3 separate regions of the Homo sapiens genome follow, and all the other regions are linked to region 1. The links are contacts of gene promoters, found by promoter capture Hi-C in human tissues and cell types (Jung and others, 2019). All regions are on one chromosome and are shown on one strand. The core of a region is centred on a gene start or on the middle of the fragment in contact, and the rest is flanking DNA. Distances in the headings are between cores, read along the strand shown. Region 1 holds the start of EIF3H (eukaryotic translation initiation factor 3 subunit H). Region 2 overlaps TRPS1 (transcriptional repressor GATA binding 1). Region 3 overlaps TRPS1 (transcriptional repressor GATA binding 1).

What was found. The method cuts DNA at HindIII sites, captures the fragments that hold promoters and counts their contacts. A contact is called where the count stands out against the background at its distance.
Region 2: a fragment that was not itself captured here is called in contact with the fragment with the promoter of EIF3H in region 1 in 1 of the 25 tissues and cell types used here (dorsolateral prefrontal cortex).
Region 3: a contact is called between a fragment that was not itself captured here and the fragment with the promoter of EIF3H in region 1, in 1 of the 25 tissues and cell types used here (dorsolateral prefrontal cortex).

The regions. Positions count from the first base shown.
Region 1 is chr8:116,754,298-116,757,378 of GRCh38, reverse strand. EIF3H (eukaryotic translation initiation factor 3 subunit H) reads left to right here and starts at 1,556. Exons shown (of 8, transcript NM_003756.3): 1 at 1,556-1,713. The coding sequence starts at 1,582. The HindIII fragment of the contact is 13,175 bases long and covers 1-1,907 here.
Region 2 is chr8:115,466,318-115,469,398 of GRCh38, reverse strand. All of the region lies in intron 5 of TRPS1 (transcriptional repressor GATA binding 1), which reads left to right. Among named protein-coding and RNA genes, the nearest start is that of TRPS1-AS1, 42 kb to the left of the region's middle. The HindIII fragment of the contact is 5,538 bases long and covers 1-3,081 here.
Region 3 is chr8:115,640,295-115,643,375 of GRCh38, reverse strand. The region is part of intron 1 of TRPS1 (transcriptional repressor GATA binding 1); the gene reads left to right. Among named protein-coding and RNA genes, the nearest start is that of TRPS1, 27 kb to the left of the region's middle. The HindIII fragment of the contact is 5,413 bases long and covers 1-3,081 here.

The DNA of each region.
Region 1 (3,081 bases), core at 307-2,806:
GACGGAAATGTCAATGCTTCTGGGCCCTTTCTTGTCAAGGTGATCATATTGATTTCTAATTCAAATTCTTCATATTCTCTGGCCCTCTCTCTCTCTCTCTCTCAGTTGTACCTCTTACATCTAGTGTATTTCATAAAGAGGGCCCACATGAACTGTCTCAGGACAGATGAAAATAACCCATTGTAGTATGTTTAGCACACGTGGCTGCAAAACCTTAGTTGGATATTTTCAAGGACAAAAAAATTGCAAAATATTTTAAACTTTACTTTGTAGTTTTACTGCTATGAGGATATTGGTATTGTAATTCTGAAACAAAACTGTGTTATGTATGTTGTAGGATAAAGCAATAAATAAATGTATTATTGTTTATAAGTAGCCTCACTGTTTTCTAATGCTCATCATTCCAGCTACCTAGTGGTAGGCAAAAACCTCCAGTCTGGTTCTTCCATGCGAGATTTTCTTTCTTCTTTTTGTGAATGTTCTGTTACCAATTTCTAGTGTAATTTTACCAGGATCAACCTTTAAAACCTCTAAATTTGTGGACTTTCTGTGTGACCTAGGGTTTGGTGTATTTTAATAAATATTTCATATACACTTGAAATGAGTGGATATTAACTTTTCATTTTGTAGTGTTAAGAATTTGTAACATGTAACTATTTCTCCTCCCAGATTGAAATATAACACCAGATCCCAATGACAAAACAACAAAAAACTTCAGGGCAGGATATGCCGTTTATTGATTTAATTATTTCATCAGTTCTGTATACATATTTATTGAATAAACATTTCAAAAATAAGGGATAGGAAAAAAGTCATTTGGAAGTAGAAAAGAATGTTTCAAATTACTTATCTAAAATGGCTTCTTACAGTTGTCATATATTCTTTTAAGGACTTGAGATGTGTATTTCAGAGTAATGTGTCATAAATCAGCGTGATTTTTAGAAAATATATTCTGTATCATCCTTCAACAATACCTCAGATAACTTCTTTGGTACTTTACTCAGGTAAATCTCTACATGAAGCTAATAGCAAAAGGCTACTATTTCTGGTAATTCTGATAAAAGTTTCTATGTCTTAATTTCTATATAATCTAAGTGGTTACAAGCAGCTATCTAAAATTACGTAAAACAAGCTGTGCAATACTGGCTCATCGCTAATTAACAGAATAATGTCGGACAAATCACTTATCAGTTTTCTAATATGCATAATGCGAGTTAGTACAGCACTTCATTGCAAGATCAGAAATGAAAGCATTTTTACATAAGAGACACTACAGAAATAATGCGAACTGTAATGCTATTATGACGGTTTGCCTAGTGGTGAATGATTAAACATTTAAAAAGTTTACTTTCATCTTAGATCATTCCATCGGAAAGAGGTCGAAAATGTACAGTAGGCATGCACAAAGGATACCGCCTGGAAAGAAGGTAAAACTGGAAAACAGGAGGGAGGCGGGGCCCAATTTTGGCTTCTCCTTCCGTCTCCGCCCCTCGAACGCCGGCCTGCGAGTGACGTCACGCGAGACTTGTACTTCCGCTTCCGGTAACTCACGTTTCTCTTTCTTCCTGTCTGCTTGGAAAGATGGCGTCCCGCAAGGAAGGTACCGGCTCTACTGCCACCTCTTCCAGCTCCACCGCCGGCGCAGCAGGGAAAGGCAAAGGCAAAGGCGGCTCGGGAGATTCAGCCGTGAAGCAAGTGCAGATAGATGGCCTTGTGAGTGCTGTTCTTTTTCCTCTGGCCCACGTGGGGAGCGCAGTTCCCAGCCCCGTCCCACCAGACGTACTTTCTAGCATTCTCCCCCTTGGGCTTGGTGTGGCTGGGCCAAAGTTTTTCCCTAGTACGTTTCTCTTTCATCTTCACTTTTTGTTCAGGAGCTTCGACAGCCTTCTCTTGTCTTCTAACGGGACAGTTGGGGCTTCAGGAAGGGGACTGAGAATAGGGGTGTGAGTGACAGGTTCCTGGGGTCTTGTTTTGAGATGACCGGTGGGGGGATTTGAAGAAAGACTCCTGGAGACCAGCAGCTAACGAAGGTGTCGAGAAGGATTTAGGGACCTAGTAGGGCTCTGGGAAGGAGAGAGTAAGGAAACTCCACTGATTCCCTGCTGGGATCTGACATCTATAACGTTCCAAGTGGAGATGTACTTTGTAGCCACTCTTTTGAGCCTGTACTTCGGCGCTTTATCTGAAACCGTATAATTTAGAATACTCTTTTGTAGTGTTCATTCTGAAAAACATAAAAGAATATCAAAGAGAAGGGCCTTAAATGTATTTAGTAGTTAAGGTTCATGAACTAGGACATCCAAGGAAATTCTTGATAAGGAAATGGACTTAGCTGGGAAGAGGAAAATCTAGAATGAGAAATTTTATTTCTGTTGTTTCGAAGCAAAATGCATTTATATGACGTTCTAGTTTTAAAAGTATCCTTCCTGCCCTCTTTTTAAAAAGCATCCTCTCTTCCTTTGATTTTTTTAAAGGTTATTTCCTATTAATGCAGATCTTAGATATTTGTAATAAGAAAGTACTTTTAAATTCATGTGAAAATTGTAATTGCAAGCAGGTATTTTTAAGTGGAAACTGTTGATAATTTAAACGCAGCATATAATTGAATCTGTTGAACTGACTTAGTTAAACTGGATACAAGAGTGTAGCCTGGTGGTTAAGAGCTCATTCAGTCTTCTAGGCTCTTCCACTTAACCAGCTCTGTGACTTTAAGGCAAGTTAGCCTTTCCAGGCTTTGCTTTCCTCATCTGTCAAGTGGGAATGAGAAGTATCTGTATCATAGAGTTGTTTGGATTAAATGAAAAAGTTTATGTGGTGACCTGTAGTACAGTGTAATCACTTAATGTTAATTATGATTATTATTATGAGTTTAATGTCTGTGGTTAGCAGAGTTTGAAAGATGCAGGCAAGAGATTAACTTTGGAATGTTTTGTTCTAAATGTCACTTGTGTAATACTTTGAAAATGCAGGCCGGGCGTGGTGGCTCACGGCTGTAATCCCAGCACTTTGGGAGGCCGAGGCGGGCGGATCAGGAGGTCAGGAGTTCGAGACCAGCCTGACCAACATGGTGAAACCCCGTCT
Region 2 (3,081 bases), core at 269-2,768, 1.3 Mb after region 1:
AAATTCCTTATTTACCCATTTACTAAAGATAACACCAGGTTCTGTCTTCTTAGCACCAGTTAATGATGTTCTAGTTAATTTGTAACTTGCACAGTATCTGTTCATGCTATTGCTGCCAAACATATTGCAGATCAAGGAGCCTGTTATGCAACTGTGAATAAGAATCTTAGGCCACTTCACACTGTTTCATCTTGTCAATTGGGAGTTTTGTTTGGTTCAGCATGTGTGTGTGTATGTTTTTGTTTTTGTTTTTGTTTTGAGACAGGGTCTTACTCTGTCACCCAGACTGGAATGCAGTGACAAGATAATGGCTTACTGCAGCCTCAACCTCCCAGGCTCAAGCAATCCTCTGGTTGAGCCTACGAAGTAGCTGGTACCACAGGTGTGTACCACCATGCCTGGATATTTTTAAATTAGTTTTGTAGAGACAGGGGTTTATCTATGTTGCCCAGACTGGTCTCAAACTCCTGGCCTCATATGATCTCTTGTCCTCAGTTCCCCAAAGTGTGGGGATTACAGGAGTGAGCCACCATGCCTGGCCTTAAATTCTGATGGCTTTTAGGCAAACAAGTAATGTACTATGTATATCCCTTTTTCAAAATGTATTATGAGTTCTGTAGCTTATAATTGCTTCCTGTGTGCATATATGCTTTGTGGAGGATTGGAGAAAACATCAGTATAACAAGCAGTTCACTTGTTTCTCGAAATGCTGTGCTGGTGAATTAGTCACTCTGTTCTACTCTTCAGGTTTTTTGTGTGTGTGTCTGCCATTGAGGAGTATAAAACTTTTTTCAAAGTCGTTTACATTTGGCTTTGGCAAGGGTTTTAATTGTTCATTGGAGAGTATCTGTAACCTGAAAATTCTTGAGACACGGTAACCACAGAGTTAATATGTGACTCACAAAAGGCTGGAAACTGCCTACTTTTTCCATCCTGTCCCTCTCATCAGTTTTGCTTCCACTTTATTCTGGGAGTTAATTTTTATCAACCTTCACACAGAAGTACTATTTGTTTGTTCATATATGCAAGGGAAATTATTTTTATTCCTAAAGCATTTCTCCCTCTTAAAATCCTGGATTAGATTAAGCAAATATCCCGTTTATGTAAATAAATCATTTAATTAAGCAGAATAGGTAAGGATGTCAGAAATAATAAAACAGATGATTTGTCAGAAATAAACTGTAGGGCATATGATCCTTTGAAGATAATTGAAAATTCACTATTTAAAAATATGAATTAAAAAATATATAGAACTTGATGAGTTACAGTTACATACATTACTATGCTATTCGTATTTCGGAAATTGAAACTCAGAAACAAAAGCAGTGCTCTAGTTTGTCATTCCTTATCAGTGAAGTGTGGAATAGTGGAATCTTCATGGGGAATTTCTGTAGGCACGAAAAATCTAGAAAACAAAGGCTGTGGAGGAGGCTGCCTCAGTCATTCTAATTGATGTCGTACAGCAGGACTACTCTTGGGTAACATCTCTGTTGTGCCCAAGGTTATGGAGATTTTCTTGCAGTCATAGGAAGAAGCTCAGGTTATGATCAACCTGGGGAGAAATGATTATACTCCTTCCTTAGATAGCAGAGAAGTTTGAGGTGTACTAGAAGTGTGGGGTTATTTACACAGTGAGCTAAGAGTAGTGATAAGAAATTTTATGTTCAGGACTGCTTTCTTATCCTATTGAACGTCAGTCTCATCCCCCTTAGTGACTTTATAGCTTGCTAGCTATCACATTCCATGTTATTCCCCTTATGTCTGTTAATGTCATTTCCAGTGCTATCCTTCTAGCCTATCCCTTTTTAAAAAATGTGTCTTATTCTCTGTCCTGGCTCCTGGACACTCATATCGCAATATAGGAAAGCCTAATAGGTAGAAATTCAAATCACAGAAAAGTTCAGAATAAATGAGCTTTATTTGGGTACAAAAGGCAAAATAGAGATACTGACTTTTTTTTTTTTTTTAACAAAAGGTCAAATTGCTTCCTTTAAAGAGCATCCTCCATTCACACCTCAGTACCACTGATTTCTTTCCAACACAGTGTTCCTGGAGCATTTTTAAATCATTGAGTGGGTTTTGCCATAAAGCTTACATTTGCCACTTGCCTTCCACAGGCCAGAGCTGCTTTTTTAAGCAGGAAAGGAAAAGGACACTGCCACTTCATATGACAGAATCAAGTAACTTGTAAATTGGAATGCATTTTTTTTTTGGTTCGCAATTTCCCCAAATTTTAAATAAATCAGTGTGCTCCTTCCCTTTACATAAATGATTTTTGTGAGAAACAAGAAGCTGTTCTAAGAATAACATTCAAAATTTCTTTAAGAAAATTCAAACCTTGCTTCCAAAACAGGCCTATGGTGAGATCGTACCAACCATTACAGGATAAGATTACAAAGAGAAAATTATTTTTATTCCATTCTGAGGGGATGTCTATTAAAGTAGCGCATAATTTCCAGAGCAGTTCTCTTGAGATTAACTTTTTTTTTTTAATGGCAAAATGAAGCAATGTAACATAATGCAAATCACACTACCATTACAAAAAGGAAATTAAAGTTGGGAGAATCTGTCAAAATATTATGAAAGTTGAGGAGTTAAAGTTTATTGCTTTATTTTTAGAATTTGCAAAGGTGTTCCACTGCAGAAATGCCTCTGGGCATTTGTAAAATGGGAGGGACATGAAAAGAGCAGTCCCTACTCAAATGGCTGTGTGTTAATTGAGCTCTTTGCCCCGCCCCCCTTCTCTTTTATCCTGCTCCCTCCTTACCCTGAAATCCCTAGTATTTCTAGATCCACAGCCAGTTTGTGTCTTAATGGGCTTTGTGATTTCAGAAGTTTCCTTCGACATAAGCTCTTCGGCATACTAATTGTTTCTCATGGAGAAACTATACTGTGTTTCATTCCAAGCCCTTCTTCACTTTACTGTAGAGTTTGCATTAAAGTTTCAGAAATACAATCAAGCTCTCTCTACATTTAGGGAAAGGAAATAAAGCACTTGCCTCAATTACATTTGTCAACAATTTCCTTTTCTGAATATGCTATGACAGAGTTTATGATATTATAGAATTATGTTTCCCCTTT
Region 3 (3,081 bases), core at 286-2,785, 1.1 Mb after region 1:
GCAGCATTAAAGTTGGAGATGATTGACTCCAATTTTGAAAGAAGTTCTAGCGTGGGTAAAATGCTATCAAGTGGCATTGCATGCTACAAACAAATCATTCATGAAAGAAGAGTCAGTTGATGTGGGAAGCTTCATTGTTGCCTTATTTTAAGAAATTGCCATAGACACCCCCAGCTTCAGCAAAGACCTCCACTGAGCAGCTATCAACAATGAGGCAAGACCAGCAAAAAGATTACCAATTGCTCAAGACTCAGGTGACTGTTAGTATTTTTTAGTAATAAAGAATGTTTTTAACTAAGTGTATTTTTTAAACATAATACTATTGCCCACTTAATAGACCATTGTGTAATGTAAATGTAGCTTTTATATGCACTGGGAAACCAAAATATTCTTGTGACTTGCTTTATTGCAATATTCACTTTATTTTAGTAGTCTCAAACTGAATCTGTAGTATCTCCGAGGTGTAGTATCTCCGAGGTGTTATATATATATAACGTTAAATATATATATTTATATATATATATATTTTTTTTCACGAAGTAAGCATGCTTTTATTATCAGATAAAAACATTAACCAAATATGTCTTTTTGGGGAATAATAAAAATGATTAAACTTACTAATGTTTTTGCTGGGGTTAGATTATCAAAGCATTTTTTTAAACACTGACACAGTCATTCATATTTTCTAGGAGAAATTACCATGCACCTTTGGAGTCATTTTTTGATAGAAAAGGTGTCCCTAATTGAGAGTACCAATTTTAAATTTTTGTTGGCAGGTGCTGCTATTGAATTGTATTTGGATTATAAAATTCACAAGTTTCATAATTGGAGGCTTATGGAGTGTATTGATGAGATGATTAGAATTACTCTTTTGGTTATGTAAGTTTTTAAATAATGGAAGAAGTTCTAGAAATCATACAAAAATTTCCAAAATAAGACTTTCAGAGGCTGTGAATGATACTGATTTTCTGTCATCTTTGTCATTTAAACACAGTTCTGTATTATTTTTTTGCTCAGCAATAAAGGAGTCAGTAGGTCCATCTGTGTGTTTCTGTTGGATTCATATCGGATATATGACTATTATGTATGTAGTGTCTTGAATGTGTATGTGTGTATATATATATATACACACAGGTTTCTTTTCTTTTTTTTTTCTTTTTTTGAGATAGGGTCTTGCTGTGTTGCCCAGGCTGGTGTCCTGTGGTGCGATCATAGCTCTCTGTAGCCTTGAACTCTTGGGCGCAAGGGCTCTTCCAGCCTCAGCCTCCTAAATAGCTGGGACTACAGGCACAAGCCATCATGCCTTTGCTAATTTTCTAATTTTTTGTAAAGACGGAGTCTTGCTGTATTTTCCAGGCTGGTCCTGAACTCCTGGCCTCAAGGAATTCTTCCCATCTCAGTCTCCCAAAGTGCTGGGATTACACATATATTTTAGACTTTGGAAATTAGGAAAACTGAAAATGGAGTTTTGTTTTGTTTTGTTTTGTTTTGTTTTCGAGACGGAGACTCATTCTGTCACTCAGGCTGGAGTGCAATGGTGCAATCTTGGCTCATTGCAACCTCCGCCTCCCAGGTTCAAGTGATTCTCCTGCCTTAGCCTCCCGAGTAGCTGAGACTACAGGCATGCGCCACCATGCTCAGCTAATTTTTTGTACTTTAGTAGAGATGGGGTTTCACCATGTTGGCCAGGGTGATCTCGAACTCCTGACCTCAGGTGATCCACCTGCCCTGGCCTCCCAAATGAAAATGGAGTTTTCATTTCCATATATCACAGTTGTTTTTCAATATAGGTCTTCAGTGACTGGAAGCCATTGCTATAGGCTGGTAATTTGATAACCCATTTTTGAAATGTATTTATTGAGCTCATTGTAATTCAGTATGCCTCTGGTGAAAGGCGTGGGATGGTATAGGTTGAAAGAATAATCTGTGGTTGTTCCCTACAGAGACGCTGCTGCCCCTTTTTGGGCAGTCATCTTTAACCTGGCACCCACTAGTGTATTTGCTAAAATGGAATATTCCAAAATTTAAATGATGTCACATTTGAAAGCAATGCCAAGAAACAATGCGGCAGTTTCTAAATTTTGTGAAGCTAAAATCCCTGGTTACAAGAAAGAGTACATGTCACAGATGAGTAGTTAGTAATGACTTCAGTTTAGCAGGAAAAGAGCAATTCCCATATGCTGATTCTAGTCTCATAACAAAGAATGTTATAGAAAGATTGCACAGTATTTAACAAGCTGTGAGTTAATGTGACAGTGTCGGTGTATCTAGTTCCAGAAGGATAATCACTTTACCATATTTCTTCAAAAATATTTTAAGTTATATTCCAAAACAGAAAACCAGATACATATGAATCCAGACTGTTCCCTGCAACACCTCCCCACCCCCAAGTTAGGTAGTAAAATCAGGTTTAAGCAATTGAATTGCTTCCGACCTGCTGGCTGCCAAATACCTGAATAAATGTAGAAGTTCCATTGTCAGACTCTGAACCTCAGAGGCTTACCTGTTATATAAGGGAGAGTGGGTATAAATGAGAGTGTTACATCTTGAACTGTAATTATCCAAAACTTAGTTTTCAGCGCTTCAGTTTACCTCTAACCAAGAGCCTCTCCTAATTTGAACATAGACTACGCCCTTCAACACTTACGGATACGTTAGGAGTTGAGAAAATTAGGTAAAGTTGTATTGCTTTCAGTCCTTTGGAACACATACTGGATACAGGCATTGGTACTGTAGGTGTGTTAGTTACCAGCAATTCATTTCCAGGGTTTTTCCCAAAGACCTGCTGTTTTATGCGTGTTCATATTAGTACTATGATTTGCTTATTCCTGTGAACACGAACAACACTGACAGATAACAGTTTTGAACAGTAGACCTGTGTCTTTTAAAAGCTTAAAACTCCATGCACATCATTTTGTCGTTGCAAAGACTTCTAAAGGCAGGCATGGGGAGGCATTGTGGAGTAGGGAGAGGATATTATGTCCTTCAGTGATTTAAGGAAATGCATGTTTTCCATCATGAAAGAAAAGATAATCATTATCAAATTCAGAGGAGATTGTTTTATCATTCCCATAATGAACC